5 separate regions of the Homo sapiens genome follow, and all the other regions are linked to region 3. Evidence: promoter capture Hi-C in human tissues and cell types (Jung and others, 2019). All regions are on one chromosome and are shown on one strand. Each heading gives the region's core, a stretch centred on a gene start or on the middle of the fragment in contact. The rest is flanking DNA. Distances are from core to core; before and after follow the strand shown.

Region 1 (3,741 bases), core at 588-3,087, 160 kb after region 3:
ACAGTCAGGACCCTCAGCTGCAGGTCTGTTGGAGTTTGCTAGAGGTCCACTCCAGACCCTGTTTGCCTGGGTATCACCAGCGGAGGCTGCAGAACAGGAAATATTGCAGAATGGCAGATGTTGCTGCCTGATCCTTCCTTTGGAAGCTTCCTCTCAGAGGGGCACCCGGCTGTATGAGGTGTCAGTCGGCCCCTACTGGGAGGTGTCTCCCAGTTAGGCTACTCAGGGGTCACGGACCCACTTGAGGAGGCAGTCTGTCCGTTCTCAGCTCTCAAACTCCATGCTGGGAGAACCACTACTCTTTTCAAAGCTGTCAGACAGGGACATTTAAGTCTGCAGGAGTTTCTGCTGCCTTTTGTTTGGCTATGCCCTGCCCCCAGAGGGGGAGTCTACAGAGGCAGGCAGTCAGGCCTCCTTGAGCTGCAGTGGGCTCCACCCAGTTCAAGCTTCCCAGCCACTTTGTTTACCTACTCAAGCCTCAGCAATGGCGGACGCCCCTCCCCCAGCCTCGCTGCTGCCTTGCAGTTCGATCTCAGACTGCTGTGCTAGCAGTGAGTGAGGATCTGTGGGTGTGGGACCCTCTGAGCCAGGCGCAGGATATAATCTCCTGGTGTGCCATTTGCTAAGCCCATTGGAAAAGCACAGTATTAGGGTGGGAGTGTCCCTATTTTCCAGGTACAATCTGTCATGGTTTCCCTTGGCTAGGAAAGGGAATTCCCCCAACCCCTTGCACTTCCCAGGTGAGGTGACGCCCAGCCCTGCTCAGTGTGCTGCATCCACTGTCCAACAAGCCCCAGTGAGATGAATCTGGTACCTCAGTTGGAAATACAGAAATCACCTGTCTTCTGCATTGCTCACCCTGGGAGCTGTAGACTGGAGCTGTTCCTATTCGGCCATCTTGGAACCTCCCCCATTAGTTCTGTTCCTCTAGAGAACCCTAATACATGTCCCTTCAAAATTCACATGTTGAAATCCTAACCTCTAGTGTTGTGATATTAAGAGGTGGGGCCTTTGGGAAGAAATTAGATAATGAGTGTGGGGCCCTCTTGAATTGGATTAGTGCCCTCATAAGAAGACACATGAGTGCCTCCTCTTTCCCTCTCTGCCCTCTGCCACCTGAGGATACAATGAGAGATGGCTATCTACAAACTAGGAAGAGTGCCCTCACCAGACACCAGATCTGCCAGCACCTTGATATTGGACTTCCCAGGCTTCAAACCTGAGAAATAAATGTTTGCTGTTCAAGTCACCCAGTCTATGGTGGTTTTGCTATAGCAGTCTGAACTAAGTTTCTGAGCCAAAGAATGACAGAATTGCTTTTGGAAAATAATTTAAGCTGCAAGGTCACAAGGGCTTGGGCTAAGGGAGTGGCAGTCAGAAAGGCATGGAGGACTGACAGCTCTTATTGCTGACCCCGTTTTCATCTGTGAGGACTAAGTGCAGGACACTAGGAACATGAGATAAATAATAAAAAGTTTAGCTTCACGATGTTTGCAGTCGACTAATATAATGTCCAACCAGCGTTGTTTCCAAGGACTCCTGCTCCTATAACTGAGGACCTTCTGATTGTATCTCTAGAGCTAATAACGAATGCTTAAACAAAAAGTGAAAATTTCGAACGTTCACCCAGAACTAGTATTTGCTAAAAACACATAGTTTGATATTTTGAACATGACCAAAAAGGAGATTGTGATTATTCTTTTTATTCAAGTATTTGCTAAAAATGAACACCAAAACCCAATAAAAAGAAGGCTAAATCTCCTTTATCTCCAATAACTTGGATTCAGGAAACCTGTGTTCTAATTGTATAATTTACCCACTGTGGACTTCATTTTTCTTGTTTGTAAATTAATGATAATACTTGGTCTTTCTGCTTCAAATAGGATGATGGATATTGTGTCAACTGTGAATATTAAAGAATGATCATAAGTGGTCAAATTTTTGGTAAAATCAAAGCTCCATTTTAAAATGTCTACAGAAAAAGATGAGCTGAGTTCCCCATTCCTTATCACACTGTTTAGGAGCTTGGATACTCCTGATCAACCTTCTATTTCCAAGTTGTATCCCCCTAAACAGACAGTAAGGTCTACGCTGCTAAGAATCAAGCCTGTTATTCACAAATATATCACACAACATCTAGAACAATTTTTGGCACATAGTACGCACTCAATAGAGGTTGATGGAGTGAAATAAAATGATGACTATGAGTGCCTTTTTCTTCACATTAGATGCAGGCTTTTTATTTCTGGCTTTTTAACCATTCAGTTATCAACCTGCATTCACATTATCTTTATTTTCATTCAAAAAAAAATTGTTGAATATCTACTATGTGCTGGTTACTATGAAAGTGGTAAAAAAAAAAAAAAAAGGCTTGGTGTCTGCCTTAATGGAGTTTTTAATAATTACATTTTTATTATAACCAGACTTATGAATCCTATCTTTTCTAAATTAATTCTATATATTATAATTTCTATGAAAATTACTTAAAATTAAGTTACATTTATGTCCTTTGAGATCATCTGAACCATCTTGGGATATCCCAAGCCCAAACTGAGAAAAGAAAAGAAATTTTATCCAAGGAATGCAAAGCTTTTAAATGATCAGGCCCAGAGAGTCATTAAAACAATCACATCCTGCCTCCCACTTGAGCTACATATTCATCTCTTGACTGCTTGCTATTGCCATGAATATAAATTAACCTAATAATGCCACACAGACACTAATCCACTATAACCTTGTAGCTTAACAATGTATATAGCCGATCACTAATCATTGTTATTTCTGTAAACCAATGAGAATTCCTGACAAATAACTTTGTATCAACCCACTCCATTTTTCCCTTTTAAAACCCACTTGTTACAAAGGCAAAACATTCTTCACATCCAAGGTTATTTAGATCTGAGTCGTCAGGGCAGCTGTCCTTATTTTGGCTCAAGTACACTCTTTAACTTTTTTTTTTTTTTTTTTTTTTTTTGATATGGAGTCTCACTCTGTAGCCCAGGCTGGAGCTGGAGTGCAGTGGTGCGATCTTGGTTCACTGTAACCTTCACCTCCCAGGTGTCCGTTCAAGCAATTCTTCTGCCTCAGCCTCCTAAGTAGCTGGAATTACAGGCATGTGCCACCATGCCCAGCTAAGTTTTGTATTTTTAGTAGAGCCGGGGTTTCACCATGTTGGCCAGGCTGGTTTTGAACTCCTGACCTTGTGATCTGCCCTCCTCGGCCTCCCAAAGTGAAACTCTTTAAATTATATTTTGTATCTCAGCCTCTTCCTGTTAAGTCAATAAAGTTTTTTTAAAAAGCAAAATAACTCTGTCATAATGATTAATAACCATAGGTTTTTTAAATTACCATAATCAATACACTACTGATACTTAAAACATAATTACATAAAAGTTTTTTTTTGGTTGAGGCTTTTTAAAAATGGATTTTAATTATTGACAGAGTCCTTTATGCCCAGGCTAACACTAAAAACCGATTTTTTGAATTTAGCTTCTTTTTAAAATTGAATTCTATCAAACAACCAAAGAGTGAGTGTGCACATACGCATGCTATATGGCACTTGAGAATCAATTTATGAAACACTGACGCTTCAACCAAATATTTTGGTTCAAGAAAATAAAACATAAAGCAGAGTGTTCCAGAAAATGATGAGATATAAATTTATCAAAATTGCCAATCAGCAAAACCTAAAATAAAGATTTGAAATACATGTGTGGATGAAATAAAAATATTTCACCCCCA
Region 2 (4,236 bases), core at 1,103-3,602, 180 kb after region 3:
CACCAGGAAAACATTGAATTGCTTTCTGTCACTGTAGATTAGTTTTCATTGTCTAGAATTTTATACAATGGAATCATATAATTGTACTTTTTGTCTGGCTTCTTGGACTTAGTATAATTACTTTCAACTTTATCCATCAATCAATAATCTTGTTGCCAAATACTGTTCCATTTTATGGATTTACCACAATTTGTTTACATTAAGCCATTGATAGACATTCAGTGGACTTCAATTTTTGGCTGATAAAAATAGTGCTGCCATAATTATTTAAGTGCACCTTTTCTATGAATGTATGTTTTCATAGCTCTTGGAAAAATATTTACTTAGGAATGGAATAGCTGGATTGTATGGTAAAAGAATGTTCAACTTTTTAAGAAAGTGCCAAACTGTTTTCCAAAATCGTTGTACCACTTTATATATTCAAACCAGTAGTATTTGAGAGTTCTAATTTCTCCACATCATGTTAACATTTGGAATTATCATTTTGTTTCATCATATTTTTAAATTTTGGCCATTCTAGTCAAAGTGTAGTTGTATCCCATTTCGGTTCAATTTGCATTTCACTAATAACTCATAATGTTCAGCTTTTTTTTGTATGCCATCTATGTGTCTTCTTTGGTAAAGTGCCAGTTGAAATCATTTGCCCATTTAAACAAATTATGTTCCTTGTCTTCTCATTTTACAGTTGTAACAATTCTTTATTCTGGATAAAAGTCCTTTGTTAGATATATATTATGCAAATATTTTCTCCCAAATCTGCAACTTAGATATTATTTTATTTTTTTATTTCAGTAGGTTTTGGGGAAACAGGTGGTTTTTGGTTACATGAATAAGTTCTTTACTGGTGATTTCTGAGTTTTCGGTGCACCCATGACCCGAGCAGTACACACTGTACCCAATGTGTAATATTTTATCTCTACCCTCCCATCCTTCCCCTCGAGTCCTCAAAGTCCATTATACCATTCTTATGCCTTTGCATCCTCATAGCTTAACTCCCACTTATAAGTGGGAACATACGATATTTGGTTTTCCACTCCTGAGTTACTTAGCTTAGAAAGTGGTCTCTAACTTCATCGAAGTTGCTACAAAAGCCATTATTTTGTTCCTTTTATAGTATTGCATGATGTACATATACGACATTTTCTTTATTCACTTGTTAGTTGATGGGCATTTAGGTTGGTTCCATATTTTATCACTTGTGAATTGTGCTGCTATAAACTTGTGTGTGCAAGTGTCTTTTTCATATAATGACTTCTTTTCCTTTGGGTAGATAACCAGCAGTGAGATTGCTGAGTCGAATGGTAGAAGTACTTTCAGTCCTTTAAGGAATCTCCATACTGTTTTCTACAGTGGTTGTACTAGTTTACATTCCCACCAGCAGTGTAAAGGTGTTCTCTTTTCACCACATCGATGCCAACAATTATTATTTTTTGATTTTTTAAATTATGGCCATTCTTGCAGGAGTTAGGTGGTATACTGAATTGTGGTTTTAATTTGTATTTCCCTGATAATGAGTAGGTGTTCTTTCCCTACTTCATGTTTTTGAATGCTTTGTCAATGATCAAGTTGGGTATAAATCTTTGGCTTTATTTCTGGGTTCTCTATTCTGTTCCATTGGTCTGCATGCTTATTTTTATACCAGAACCATGCTGTTTAGGTAAGGATAGTCTCGTAGTATAGTTTGAAGTCAGGTAATGTGATGCCTCCCAATTTGCTCTTTTTGCTTAGTCTTGCTTTGGCTATGCAGGCTTTTTTTTGGTGGGGGGGGTTCCATATAAATTTTAGAATTTTTTTTTTAGTTCTGCAAAGAATGATGATAGTATTTTGATGGGAATTGCATTGAATTTGTAGATTTATTTTGGCAGTATGGTCATTTTCACAATATTGATTCTATCAATCCATGAGCATGGGATGTGTTTCCATTTGTTCACGTCATCTATGATTGCTTTCAGCAGCTTTTTGTAGTTTTCCTTGTAGATGTCTTTTATCTCCTTGGTTAGGTATATTCCTAAGTTTTTGTTTGTTTGTTTGTTTTGTTTTTTGCAGCAATTGTAAAGGGGGTTAAGTTCTTGATTTGATTCTCAGCCTGGTCATTGTTGGTATGTAGCAGTGCTACTGATTTTTGTACATTGACTTTGTGTTCTGAAACATTATTGAATTCATTTATCAGATCTAGAAGCTTTTCAGATGAGTCTTTAGGGTTTTCTAGGTATACAATCATATCATCAATGAACAGCGACAGTTTGACTTCCTCTTTATCGACTTGGATGCCCTTCATTTCTTTCTTCTGCCTGATTGCTCTGGCTAGAATTTCCAGGACTACGTTGAATAGAAGTAATGAAAGTGGGCATCCTTGTCTTGTTCTACTTCTCAGGTGGAATGCTTTCAACTTTTTCCCATTCAGTATAATGTTGGCTGTGGGCTTGTAATATATGTCTTTTATTACCTTAAGCTATGTCCCTTCTATGCCAATTTTGCTGAGGGTTTTAATCATATAGGGATGCTGGATTTTGTCAAATGCTTTTTCTGTGTCTGTTGAGATGATCACGTGGTTTTTGTTTTTAATTCTGCTTATGTGGTGTATCACATGCATCAACTTGCGTATGTTAAACCATCCGTGCATCCTTTGTATGAAAGCCATTTGTTCATGGTGGATTATCTTTTTGATATGCTGTTGGATTTGGTTAGCTAGTATTTATTTGATTTTTGCATCTATGTTCATCAGGGATGTTGGTCTATAGTTTTCTCTTTTTGTTATATCCTTTTCTGATTTTGGTATTAATGTGATACTGGCTTCACAGAATGATTTCGAAGGATTCTGTCTTTCTCTATCTTTTGGAATTGTTTCAGTAGGATTGGTACCAATTCTTTGAATATCTACTAGAATGCAGCTGTGAATCCATCTGGTCCTGGATTTTTTTTGTTGTTGGCGATTTTTTTTATTACTGTCTCAATCTTGCTAATTGTTATTGGTCTGTTCAGAGTTTCTATTTCTTCCTGATTTAATATAGGAGGGTTGTATGTTTCCAAGAATTTATCCATCTCTCCATTTTTTTAGTTTGTGTGCATAAAAGTGTTAATAGTAGTTTTGTTGACTTTCTGTCTTGATGACCTGACTAGTGCTGTCAGTGGTGTATTGAAGTCCCCCACTATTATCTCAGCATCATTTGTCTGAAAAACTTGGTAGTGGAGAATTCTCTCAGCATTTGTTTGCCTGAAAAAGACAAAGGCCAGGGAAGTCGTCCTCAATTATTCCCTCAAATAAGTTTTCTAAAGTTTTAGATGTCTCTTCTTCCTCAGGAACACCAATTATTCTTACGTTTGGTCATTTAACATAATCCCAGCTTTCTTGAGAGCTTTGTTTACTTTTTTATTATTCTTTTTTGTTTGTCTCTGTCTAATTGGGTTAATTTGAAAGGCTTGTCTCTGAGCTCTGAAGCTCTTTCTTCGACTTGTTCTAGCCTATTGTTGAAATTTTCCATTGCATTTTGTATTTCCCTAAATGTTTCTTTCATTTCCAGAAGTTGTGATTGTTTTTCTAATGATATCTATTTTTCTTCAATATTATGCATCCGTATCCTGTATTTTTTTTAATTTCTTTAAGTTGGTTTTCACCTTTCTCTGATATCTCGTTGAGTAGCTTAATATTTAACCTTCTGAATTCTTTATATGGCAATTCAGAGGTTTCTTCCTGGTTTAAATCCATTGCTAGAGAGCTAGTGTGATCTTTTGGGGGTGTTATAGAACTATGTTTTTCATGTTACCAGAACTACTTTTCTGGTTCCTTCTCATTTGTGTAGACAATTTCTTCAAATTGTTCTTGAATTCTTTTTTGATTGGACTGTGTTTTGTAGATTTAATTTTCTTTTCTTTTTTGTGTTTTCCTCTTAAGAATCAGACTTCAATGTTTATTATAGTCTAATTTGATTCTTGGTGCTTGTAGGGGTAAAGACTCTGTATGAGTTCCTTAGTTATAGAGAGTCTTTGTGTGCTGGTTTTCCCCAATGTTGGTTGTAGTAGTTATATTCTTGGTGTGTGGGTGAGTTCGACGTCTCCTCTCAAGTTGAAATGGCAGGGATCTCTTGAAACTTATCTCGTTCCCTAGTGGTGTACAATTTATTTGTTTATTTATTTTTTCCCAGTGTTTTATTTACTGATTTGATGATTCAGGCTTCAGGTCAATAGGAGAGGTAAGCCTGGTTAGGCTCCAGGTGTGGCTAAGGCAGGTGGGAAGAT
Region 3 (4,046 bases), core at 346-2,845:
TTCATTGATCTCTTAGACTACTCCAACACATGTGAATGACTTTTTAATGCCCCACTTTGTGCTTAGTCTTGGCTGGCCTTGTCAAGACCTGGAAACTTTAACACTTCTTGCTGTGCATTTCCGCTTTGCCTTGGATTACAAGCACAAAAAGAAATAGTGACAATTATTCAAGCCATTCAGGATACTTCCCAAACCCTTCTGCCTCTCAACACTGTGGTTCGGGTCTAAGTACTGAGAATATTTTAATACCTAATATGAGCTTCGCATGGTTTCCAGAGATGCAGCATATCTTTTTAGCTAATATTGGCTTTTTTGAAGCTCATAAGATAACAGCTCTTAAAGATCCTGTAGGGATCATCTCGTCCATGCTAGGAAATTAGCTGGTCCTTCCTCAGTAAGGAACTATTTAGATAAAAGCAGTCAGAACTCTGGCCTGAACAGTAAACATTTAACCAGAGTTCAATCAGAATTCAAGGACAGGTTTTCTTAAACTTTCTTTGTTTCTAGGAGATCAGGCAGAGCTGAATTTAACCAAGAATCTTTTGATCCTTTCCACATATAGATATACAATAGTGGTCACATATGTTCTGGGAGTTCCTAGACCTTATATGTCTAAACTGGGGCTTCCTGACATAAAACTATGCTTACCGGCCAGGAATCTGTTAGAAAACTCAGAGCTCAGTAGAAGGAACACTGGCTTTGGAATGTGGAGGTCTGGTTTTGCTCAAAGTGTGCAGTATGTGAAGGAGAACAATTTACTGACCATTACTCTGCCTTACTGATTCAAATTCTGAGGTTTATTGAATAATTTCTTAGATTGCCTTCCAGCTCTAAATTTCTCAGCACCAAAATGAAGTCCATTTCAATCTCTCTCTCTCTCTTTCCCTCCCGTACATATACACACACTCATACATATATATGGTCACAATAGAAAGGCAGGTAGATCAGAAGTCTCAGTTGCTGAGAAAGAGGGAGGGAGGGTGAGCCAGAGGTACCTTCTCCCCCATTGTAGAGAAAAGTGAAGTTCTTTTAGAGCCCCGTTACATCTTCAAGGCTTTTTATGAGATAATGGAGGAAATAAAGAGGGCTCAGTCCTTCTACTGTCCATATTTCATTCTCAAATCTGTTATTAGAGGAATGATTCTGATCTCCACCTACCATACACATGCCCTGTTGCTTGTTGGGCCTTCCTAAAATGTTAGAGTATGATGACAGATGGAGTTGTCTGGGTACATTTGTGTGCATTTAAGGGTGATAGTGTATTTGCTCTTTAAGAGCTGAGTGTTTGAGCCTCTGTTTGTGTGTAATTGAGTGTGCATGTGTGGGAGTGAAATTGTGGAATGTGTATGCTCATAGCACTGAGTGAAAATAAAAGATTGTATAAATCGTGGGGCATGTGGAATTGTGTGTGCCTGTGCGTGTGCAGTATTTTTTTTTTTTTAAGTAAGCCACTTTAGATCTTGTCACCTCCCCTGTCTTCTGTGATTGATTTTGCGAGGCTAATGGTGCGTAAAAGGGCTGGTGAGATCTGGGGGCGCCTCCTAGCCTGACGTCAGAGAGAGAGTTTAAAACAGAGGGAGACGGTTGAGAGCACACAAGCCGCTTTAGGAGCGAGGTTCGGAGCCATCGCTGCTGCCTGCTGATCCGCGCCTAGAGTTTGACCAGCCACTCTCCAGCTCGGCTTTCGCGGCGCCGAGATGCTGTCCTGCCGCCTCCAGTGCGCGCTGGCTGCGCTGTCCATCGTCCTGGCCCTGGGCTGTGTCACCGGCGCTCCCTCGGACCCCAGACTCCGTCAGTTTCTGCAGAAGTCCCTGGCTGCTGCCGCGGGGAAGCAGGTAAGGAGACTCCCTCGACGTCTCCCGGATTCTCCAGCCCTCCCTAAGCCTTGCTCCTGCCCCATTGGTTTGGACGTAAGGGATGCTCAGTCCTTCTAAAGAGTTTTGGTGCTTTTCTGGGTCCCTCAGCTCCCGAAGCTCTTGAGAAAACTATCAAAGGCTAGAATCCCCTTCTAACTCTTTTTTTCCCCCATGATAAGCGCAGTCGGTCACAGTTCAGGTGAGTTCTTACTTGGCATTCAAGAAAATTACAAAATCTGGGTAGTTGTCTGGGCACGAAGCGACAATGGCGTCTATCCCTGGTGCTGACCCTGGGAAGCGCTGACCCAGGTGCTGAAACGCAGACCTCTGAAGCTGCTACCTCTTAGCGTACCTCACTTCCAAACGTCGGGACTAGGGCAAAGGGGCAATCTAAAGACCGAACGCCGTATGTTTGAGATTGTGAGAAGTCTCGTTCCCCTACAGTTTACTTGGTAAAAATGGTAAAACAATTCTACTTTGTAGCTCGTGATGTGAAAATTGAATTAAACTGTTGGCACACACTTTATCTTACCAGAACGGTCTTTATGTGTGTGTGTGTGTGTGTGTGTGTGTTTGTGCGTGTGTGTGTGTGTGTGTGTGTGTTAAGTCTACAGGGACAGAAAGGTTGCAGAAACATTTGAGCTCTTAAAGCCTTTTTGTGTAACTTGGTAATTATAGCAACTATCCTTATTTTTATATCCTTGATTGATTTTAAATGTGACAAAAAATGCGCAGCTGTAAAAACTGGATTTTGTGTGTGACCAAATCTGTTCTTTAATTTAGGCTTTTCAAATTTTTTCCATTGTCCTCCCCACTTCTCTTTCTCTCTTTTTCTATCCCTTCTGCCCTATACAGGAACTGGCCAAGTACTTCTTGGCAGAGCTGCTGTCTGAACCCAACCAGACGGAGAATGATGCCCTGGAACCTGAAGATCTGTCCCAGGCTGCTGAGCAGGATGAAATGAGGCTTGAGCTGCAGAGATCTGCTAACTCAAACCCGGCTATGGCACCCCGAGAACGCAAAGCTGGCTGCAAGAATTTCTTCTGGAAGACTTTCACATCCTGTTAGCTTTCTTAACTAGTATTGTCCATATCAGACCTCTGATCCCTCGCCCCCACACCCCATCTCTCTTCCCTAATCCTCCAAGTCTTCAGCGAGACCCTTGCATTAGAAACTGAAAACTGTAAATACAAAATAAAATTATGGTGAAATTATGAAAAATGTGAATTTGGTTTCTATTGAGTAAATCTTTTTGTTCAATAATACATAATAAGCTTGAGTGGCGGTTTCAGTAAAGTTATTTGAGATAGGTACTCCAATGTTCACAAACATCTATTTAAAATTCTCGGTGGCAATAAAGTTTACATTTTAAATGATAACTATTATAACATGAGTCATTTTAAACAGAAATAATTTCACATAACTCTATGCATTCAAACTTTAATTCAATGATAATTACTGGGAGAGGCTGACATAAACATTAATTACATATTAAGTACACCTAAATTATATGTTGGACTATTGAAATGAGTGTGTGTGAATAGTTAGGCTGAAAAATCCAACTATCTACCAGGTTGATATGTAAAATACATAACATATGAAAAGATGGAAGGAACAAAGTCATTTGGTGGTTGAGAAAAAATCTGACTTAAATAGCTAAAATGAGGTTCTGAATTTGTTTCTAGTTTGTAAACATTTATCTAGAGAAATACCATTGCTTTTGTGTCTTCTTTGACAATCCTCTCTAATTGAACAGTGCTAAATGACTGTTTTAAAAGCAAGCTTTTAAGATATTTTTTCTCAGGGAGAAATATCACTTTTATTATAAGATTCCTTCTGGAAGTACTATAGGTTGCAAGAAATGCATATTGGCTTACCTCACTGAGTGCTATCTATATTGCAGGTATTGGAGCTCAAAATCATAATTATGAAATAGCTGAAGGAGATATCTCAAGTCTTCTCTTAATTCTATCAATATGGGAGTCAAATAAAAACACAAAAATTATTCTTAAACACTCAGTAAAGGTGATAGTCTTATAACAACATGCTAAATGGGATCACTCAAGACAGAATGTAAACATTGCTAATTTAACTTCCTGAGACCTAAAGAGATATCCTTTGGGGGATGTGTGTTTTAGCTATCAACTGCATTTCTGCATAGCTACTGGAATAAAAACCAAACATAAATAT
Region 4 (4,276 bases), core at 539-3,038, 250 kb after region 3:
ATAATGTGCTGATGTCATAACAAGATTCAGAGGGTGGCACATCTCACACATGAGCATGAACACCCAATCATCATGTTCATGAACTGCAAAAGGATCTGCAGGTATCTTTTTGAAAGAATCATTTCTTTTCCTTTAGGTAGATACCCAATAATGGGAATTGCTGGGTCGTATAGTAGATTGATCTATTTTTAGTTCTTTGAGAAATCTTCATATTGTTTTCCATAGGGGTGGAACTAATTTACATTCCCACCAACAGTGTATAAGTGTTCCTTTTTCTCTGCATCCTTACTAACATCTGTTATTTTTTGACTTTTTAATAATAGCCCTTCTAACTGGTGTGAGATGGTATCTCCTTGTGGTTTTAATTTGCATTTCTCTGATGATCAGTGATGTTAACATTTTTTCCATATATTTGTTGGCTGCTTGTATGTTTTTTTAAGAAGTGTCTGTTCATGTCCTTTGCCCAATTTTAATGTTTATTTCTTGCTGACTTACTAAAATTTCTTATAGATTGTGGATATTAGACCTTCTTTGGATGCATAGTTTGCAAATATTTTCTCCCATGTTGTAGGTTGCCTGTTTACTCTGTTGGTTGTTTCTTTTGCTGGGCAGAAGCTCTTTAGTTTAATTAAATCCCATTTGTCTATTTTTGTTTTTGTTGCATTTGCTTTTAATGTCTTAGCCATAAATTCTTTGGCTAGGCCAATGTCCAGAAGAGTATTTCCTAGATTTTATTCTAGCATTTTTATAGGTTGAGGTCTTACATTTAAGTCTTTAATCCATCTTGAGTTAATTTTTGCATATGGTGAGAAGTAGGGGTACAGTTTTATTCTTCTAAATATGGCTAGGCAATTTTCCAAGAACCATTTACTGAATAGGGTGTTGATATAGCTTGATATTTGTCTTTGCCAAAATATCATGTTGAAATGTAATCCTAGCCAGGCATGGTGGCTCATGCCTGTAATCTCAGCACTTTGGGAGGCCAAGGCAGGTGGATCATCTGAGGTCAGGAGTTCTAGGCTTGGCAAACATATTGAAACTCTGCCTCTACTAAAAATACAAAAAAAATTATCCAGGTGGAGTGGTGTGTGCCTGTAGTCCCAGCTACTCAGGAGGCTGAGGCAGGAGAATTGCTTGAACCTGGGAGGCAGGGGTTGCAGTGAGTCAAGATCCTGCCATTGCACTCCAGCATGGGCGAAAGAGCGAGGCTCCATCTCAAAACAAACAAAAGAAAGAAACATAATCCCCAGGATTGGAATTGGGGCCTGGTGAGAGGTGTTTGGGTCATGGGGGCGGATCCCTCATGGCTTGCTGCTGTCCTTACTATAGTGAGTTCTCAAATGATCTGGTTGTTTAAAGTGTGTGGTACCTCTTCCCTTCTCTCTTGCTCCTACTCCTACCATATGAGATGCCTGCTCCCCCTTCACCTTCCACCATGATTGTAAGCTTCCTGAGGCCACTGCAGAAGCTGAGCAGATGCTGACACCATGCTTCCTGTACAGCTTGCAGAGCTATGAGCCAATTAAACCTTGTTTCCTTATAAATTACCCTGACTCAGGTATTTGTTTATGACAATGCAAGAACAGCCTAAGACAGATGTTCTTTCTCCATTGTTTATTTTTGCCAACTTTATTGCAGATCAGTTGATTGTAGGTGTATGGCTTTATTTCTGAGTTATCTATTCTGTTCTATTGGTCTATGTGTCTATTTTTGTACCAGTACCATGCTGTTTGGATTACTCTAGCCTTCTAATATAGTTTGAAGTCTGGTAATGTTATGCTTCTGGCTTTATTCTTTTTGCTTAGGATTGCTTTGGCTATTTGGGTTCTTTTTGGTTCCATACAAATTTTAGACCAGTTTTTTTCTAGTTCTGTGAAAAACAACATTGGCAATTTGATAGAAATTGCTTTAAATCTGTAATTTACTTTGGCAAGTATGGCATTTTAATGACATTGATTCTTCCACTCCATAAGCATGGAATGTTTTTCCATTTGTTTATGTTGTTTCTGATTTCTTTCAGCAGTGTTTTGTAGTTCTCCTTGTAGAGATCTTTTACCTCCTTGGTTAAATGTATTCCTAGGTATTTTGTGTGTGTGCGTGTGTGTGTGTGTGTGTGTGTGTGTGTATCTATTGTAAATGGGATTGATATCTTAATTTGTTTCTTAGTTTAAATGCTATTGGTGTATAGAAATGCTACTTGTTTTGTAGGTTGATTTTGTATCTTAAAACCACTGAATTCATTTATCAGGTCTAGGATTCTTTTGGAGAAAATTAGGGCTTTCTAGGTATAGGATCTTGTCATCAGCAAACAGAGAAGATTTGTCTTCCTCTTTTCATATTTTGTTGCCTTTTATTTTTTTCTTTTGTCTAATTGGTCTGGCTAGGACTTCTAGTACTATGTTGAATACGAGTTGTGAGAGTAGGTAACCTTATCTTGTTGTAATTCTTAGGGGGAATGCTTTTAACTTTCACCTGTTCAGTATGATGTTGGCTGTGGGTCTGTCATATATGGCTCTTATTATTTTGAGTTATGTTCCTTCAATGCCTAGTTTGCTGAGGATTTTTATCATGAAGGGATGTTGGATTTTATTGGATGCTTTTCTTTTTTCTGGGCCCGTTGAGATCATATAGTTTTTTATTTTAATTCTGTTTATGTGGTGAGTCACATTTATTGATTTGCATATGTTGAACCATTCTTGAGTCCCATGAATAAAAAACACTTGAGTGTGATAATTTATCTTTTTGATGTGCTATTGGATTCAGTTTGCTAGTATTGTTTTGAGCATTTGTATGCCTATGTTCATCAGGGATATGGGCCTGTAGTTTTCTTTTTTGGTTGTGTCTTTGCCAGATTTTGATATCAGGATAATATTGGTTTAATAAAATGAGTTAGGGAAGAATCCCTCCCCTTCAATTTTTTGGAGTAGTTTCAATAAGATTGGTACCAGCTGTTCTTTGAATGTCTGGTAGAATTTGGTGGTGTATCTATTTGGTCCAGGGTTTTTTTTTGATGGTAGACTTTTTATTGCTGATTTACTTTCATAACTTGATATTGGTCTGTTCAGGATTTCAATTTATTGGTGGTTCAATCTTGGGAGGTTGTGTCTTCGGGAATTTATTTCTATTTCCTCTAGGTTTTCTATTTTATGTGCATAGACATGTTGATAGTAGTCTTTGAGGGTTTTTGTATTTCTGTGTTATCAGTTGTAATGTCACCTTTGTCATTTCTGATTGTGCTTATTTGAATCTTCTCTTTTTCCTTCTTAGTTAATCTAGCTGGAAGTCTACTAATTTTGTTTATCCTTTCAAAGAACCAATTTTGAAAGGTTCTTTGATCATTTGTATGGTTTTTTCATTGATAATTTGTATGTTTTTTTTTTTGTTTTTGGTCTCAAATTCATTTAGTTCGGCTCTAATCTTTCTTGTGTCTTTTCTTCTGCTAGCTTTGAATTAGGTTTATTCTTGCTTTTCTATTTCCTTTAGGTGCAACATTAGGTTGTTAATTTGGGATTATTCTATCTTTTTAATGTAGGAATTTAGTGTTATAAACTTTCCTCTTACACTGCTTTTGCTGTATCCCAGAGGTTTTGGTATGTTGTGCCTGTCTTCTTGTTTGTTTCAATTTTTTAAATTTCTGCCTTAATTTCATTGTTTATTCAAAAGTCATTCAGGAGCAAGTTGTTTAGTTTCCATGTACTTGTGTCATTTTGAGAGTTTCTATTGGCACTGATTTCTAATTTTATTTCACTATGGTCCAAGAAAATGCTTGATATGATTTTCATATGTTTGAATTTATTGAGACTTGCCTTATGACCAAGAATGTGGTCAATTTCAGAAACTGTTCCATATGCAGATGAGAAAAATGCATATTCTGTGGTTGTTAGGTGAAATATTCTGTGTATGTTTATTAGGTCTATTTGATCAAGAGTCTGATTAAAGTCCAGGGTTTCTTTGTTAATTTTCTGCTTTGATGATCTGTCTAGTGCTGTTAGTGGAGTGCTGAAATCCCCTACTATTATTGTATAGCTGTGTATCTTTTTTTTTGGTAGGTCTAGTATCCTTTTTTTTTTTTTTTAAATGTTCCGGGATACATGTGCAGAACGTACGTACAGGTTTGTTACATAGGTAAATGTGTGCCATGGTGGTTTGCTGCACCTATCAACCTCGGTATTAAGCCTATTAAGCCTTGCATCCATTACCTATTTGCCCTGATGCTCTCCCTCCCCTCGCCCAGCCAACTGGCCCTGGTGCATGTTGTTTTCCTCCCTGTGGCCAT
Region 5 (3,937 bases), core at 1,181-3,680, 210 kb after region 3:
AAAATAAATGAAAGTTTACCCCCGTATTCAGCTTTTGACATGGTGTTGATTTTCAGTGCTTGATAAGTAATTGTTAGAGTGAAAAATTAAATGATAAGGCTGGGTATATTTGCTGAGTGATAGTTGGAAACCTAAGTCCTGGCCCACACTCTGTGACTTCACCTTGCCCCAAGACACTGGCAACTAAGGGACTGAATTGGGTGGATGACCCCAGTGCTCAGTCATGGAGGTAGCAGAGCTGTCACCATGAATTCAGTGGACACACACGTTTCAGCCTGTGCATCCCTGTGAAAAATCTATCCCATCAGGCTGCCACAGGAGACAATGGCTGCTGGTCCCCCAGCTCCCACCCCACTGGCCTTCTTTTCTCAATTGGATTCTGAACATGGGTGCAGGCAGAATTACAAGGGCTCTGCGAGGAGAATATCTGCAGTGCACAGTCTCTTGAGCACATAATGGGTTCATAATGAAAGAGCATAAATCTGGAAGATGAGGGAGATGGATGTCATTAAAGGCTAAAGCACAAAGCAAAAGGATGAATCCCACCACTACTCAGACAAGTCTTCACCTCACTTCAAAGGACTTTGTCATCTGAGCCTTCTGCCCCACTAGGGTTCCCTCTCCATGCCACTCCACTTTCCAGTCCTTACTTTTCCCATTTTCCCCAACATCTACCACCCACAAGATCTGCCACCCACCTGCAGAACTGGGCATGGGTCACTAATTTGACTTAGTTCCAGAACACAGAGCCTCAGCTCCTGCTACCCCATGTCTAATGGGGAAAGTGACACCTCATGGGACTCCAGTGAGAATGAAAGGTACTGCATGTGAGAAAGTTTTTTTAAAAGTGTTCAGTGTTGTGCAAATTCAGCACAACCATTGAAAATTGTATTATTTATATAGCCATAGCCAATGGTTCACTTTTTTCCCCCTAAATTAACACTCCTTCCCTACCATGGATTATTTCAGTTTGTATAAAACTAAATACATGGTTTGTATAAAACTGATAAAGTTCAGTTGTGTTTTGAATCAGAGTAGGTACAGCTATATATTACGTGAGTCAACATAAAGCATTTTTAATGGCGTCTTATACTGGCGAACACTATGTAAGGGAAGGCTAATATTCATGCAAAAATGACATGAACTAGAGGCTCCCAAACAGGACTCTAGATCTGATTCTGCGTTTCTGTTTATCTTTAAAAAAATGCTGATATGTGTACTTACCCTGCCTACTTTGTACATGGAGTAGTGTTCAGGAATAAATTAGCAATGTAGGTGGGTAAAATTCCTTTATTAACTATACTATAAACATTGTAAAGATAATACATGTATCTATGTTCATATGCCCCTCTTTTTTCAAATATTTCCATTTTTGCTCCCCTTTTCTTTGTTTTTGTTTTTTCTTTCTTTCTTTTTGACAACTGGAACACAAAATATCAATCAGAGTGATTAACCAAGTTTAAGACATTTAAAATTTACTATATAATAGCCAGGACTTGAAAACAGTACAGATATTCTCTCTCTCTCCATCTCTCTCTCTCTTACACACACACACTTTTGAAACACTGATGCTTACTATCCACAAGGAGTCAAATACTTAGCCTGAATGAGAGCAAAACAATAAAATCTTTCCCCTGCAGTGTTAATTTTGACCTACAATGTAATTGAACTTTGCCAGCTGAGTGGGGAATAGGAGTAAGCCCTTGATAGGATTAGAAAGCTTATCTAAGAATTTTTGCTTAATAACCTGATTGTTGAAATCTGTATTGCTTTTTCAAACACTGCACCTCCTGTGACCTTTCGCCACCCACCAGAATGGCTTCCTGGAGCTTCTCTATTCAGAGTGGTGTCAGATTGTATTCAGTACAGAAGTTGAGTTCTACCATGTTTTATTTTTCTAAGAGAAATGAATATTAAGGTTTAAGGATTCGAGGTTAGATGATAAAAGTGTGACTATGATCATAGGGATACTGGCATGACTCAAGTCTTAATGTACAACGTGATATTGGACTGGACAACAGAACACCCAGATCTCATCCAAGTATAATTGTTACTTAGCTGTGTGAGCTTGCGTAAGTCATGCACACTCTCTGAGCCTCAGTTTCATGAGTATCTGCAAAATAGAAACAACAGATAGTGTCAGCCCCACCTATTTCAGATTTGCTATGAGTGCCATATGAGATCCTATCCTTTGTTAACCAGACCCTGGAAACAAATCCAGAAGTTTATGAAGACACCCACACTTGCTAATAAAGAAAATGATTGCTTTGAAGAGCTCTCCTACTAGAGAAGGGAATTCTCATGATGCATGATTCAGTTTTCAGAGAAACTGAGGACAAGTATTGACCAGTTTTGGTCTTCAGAACAGCTAGAATTATTGCCTAAAAAGAGAGAAGTGCCGGGCATGGTGGTTCATGCCTGTAATCCCAGCACTTTGGGAGGCCAAGGTGGGCGGATCGTCTAAAGTCAGGAGTTTGAGACCAGCCTGGTCAATGTGGCGAAACCCCGTCTCTACTACAAAAAAAAAAAAAAAAAAATTAGCTGGGTGTGGTGGCACACACCTGTAGTCCCAGCTACTTGGGAAGCTGAGGCAGGAGAATCACTTGAATCTGGGAGGTGGAGGTTGTGGTGAGCCAAGATCACACCGCTGCACTCCAGACTGGGTGACAGAGCGAGACTCCATCACAAAAAAAAAGAGAGAGAGAGAGAGAAGCATGCTCCCAATTTTTCTCCAATTTTACCTATGGATCAAAAATATAATTCTCTTTTAGATTTTTTCCATGCATTTCATGCATTGGGGGTAGCTACAATGTAGAAGGTGTCTATTGACATAACAATGAACAACAAGGAACATTTAGTGAAGTTTTGAAGATACAGTAGTCATGCTTCCTGAACTGTGATGCGGCTGAGATGGGTCCTGCAGAGCACTTTCCTGGCTCTGCCTGGGTTAGAAAAGGTTTTATCCTCAAGGAGATTTGTGTTGGCAACACTACCAGGTAGATTGGAATTCTGGATGTGTCTCTCCCAGGCCTTTCTGTCTTCTGTCTAAGGCAGATGCCCAGACCATTACCTCTGGTGAAGACGCTGCTTGCCTGCAAGAGTCACAGAGATTCCTTCCCTGAAGACACCTCTTCTCTGACACCACATTTGCTCATCATGCTACCAGCTCCTCTGGGCCTGGGCACTGCCCTGAGTGTGTGTGTTTGTGTTTGGTGTGCACTGTCTCAAGGAACTCACAATACATGGGAAGAGACAGGCCTGTGGCCAAGTGTAGCCTTCTGGCTGCAGTAACAAGTGCTTATTCAGCCACAGTGGGGATCCCAGGAGAGAGTGACAGGTGGTGAATATGTTGAATAATAAGCCACTGTAATTTTTCTTCTCTATCAGATTGTCTTGGGATTCCTTTCTCAGTCACTTCTTTCTACCTTCCCTGCCTCAGCCCCAAGACAACTGCCAAGGGGAGAACCAAGTATAATGGATAATATTCAATTCTGAAATCACAAGAACTGTGTTTGAATTCCGGCTCCACACATTGCCAGCTCTGTAACTGTGGACAATTCACCTAAGTTCTCTAAGTCTCAGATTCTTCCCCGCTAAATTGTCAGTTGTAAAGATTAAATATGAACACATAGGAAAAACTCCTGGCCCTTGATAGAATCTCAATAAAGCTTAAAACAACAATAGTAAAGTGATCCTTCAGAATACCATCATTATAGTTTAACAACCTTTTTCACTTGCAGAAATAATAGGAGAGTGGCTCACCCACCGTCTGTATGAAGTGGATGAATGCTTGCATCAGCCCTTTGCAAACAGACTGATCGATGGAGCCAGTGATCAGGAAAATTGAATTCCACTGAATACACACTGCTGTCTGCCTGGCATCATCATATTTCAATGAAGTGGAATTGTAAATAGTGGGAGGTGTTTTTGATGAGCT

What was found. Contacts are between HindIII fragments. The study calls those that stand out against the background at their distance.
Region 1: a fragment that was not itself captured here is called in contact with the fragment with the promoter of SST in region 3 in 2 of the 25 tissues and cell types used here (aorta and mesendoderm cells).
Region 2: a contact is called between a fragment that was not itself captured here and the fragment with the promoter of SST in region 3, in 3 of the 25 tissues and cell types used here (heart left ventricle, lymphoblastoid cells and mesendoderm cells).
Region 4: a fragment that was not itself captured here is called in contact with the fragment with the promoter of SST in region 3 in 1 of the 25 tissues and cell types used here (H1 embryonic stem cells).
Region 5: a fragment that was not itself captured here is called in contact with the fragment with the promoter of SST in region 3 in 1 of the 25 tissues and cell types used here (neural progenitor cells).

What each region holds. Positions count from the first base shown.
Region 1 is chr3:187,509,893-187,513,633 of GRCh38, reverse strand. No RefSeq gene overlaps it. Among named protein-coding and RNA genes, the nearest start is that of LINC02041, 65 kb to the right of the region's middle. The HindIII fragment of the contact is 3,081 bases long and covers 297-3,377 here.
Region 2 is chr3:187,492,576-187,496,811 of GRCh38, reverse strand. All of the region lies in intron 1 of LOC124909471 (a long non-coding RNA gene), which reads left to right. Among named protein-coding and RNA genes, the nearest start is that of LINC02041, 48 kb to the right of the region's middle. The HindIII fragment of the contact is 7,793 bases long and covers 1-4,236 here.
Region 3 is chr3:187,667,943-187,671,988 of GRCh38, reverse strand. It overlaps SST (somatostatin), which reads left to right and starts at 1,595. Exons shown (of 2, transcript NM_001048.4): 1 at 1,595-1,835; 2 at 2,712-3,077. The coding sequence starts at 1,698. The coding sequence ends at 2,924. The HindIII fragment of the contact is 6,645 bases long and covers 1-3,384 here.
Region 4 is chr3:187,419,134-187,423,409 of GRCh38, reverse strand. LOC124905594 (small nucleolar RNA U13) reads right to left here and starts at 95; the gene lies at 1-95. The HindIII fragment of the contact is 5,501 bases long and covers 1-4,276 here.
Region 5 is chr3:187,459,005-187,462,941 of GRCh38, reverse strand. No RefSeq gene overlaps it. Among named protein-coding and RNA genes, the nearest start is that of LINC02041, 14 kb to the right of the region's middle. The HindIII fragment of the contact is 4,075 bases long and covers 393-3,937 here.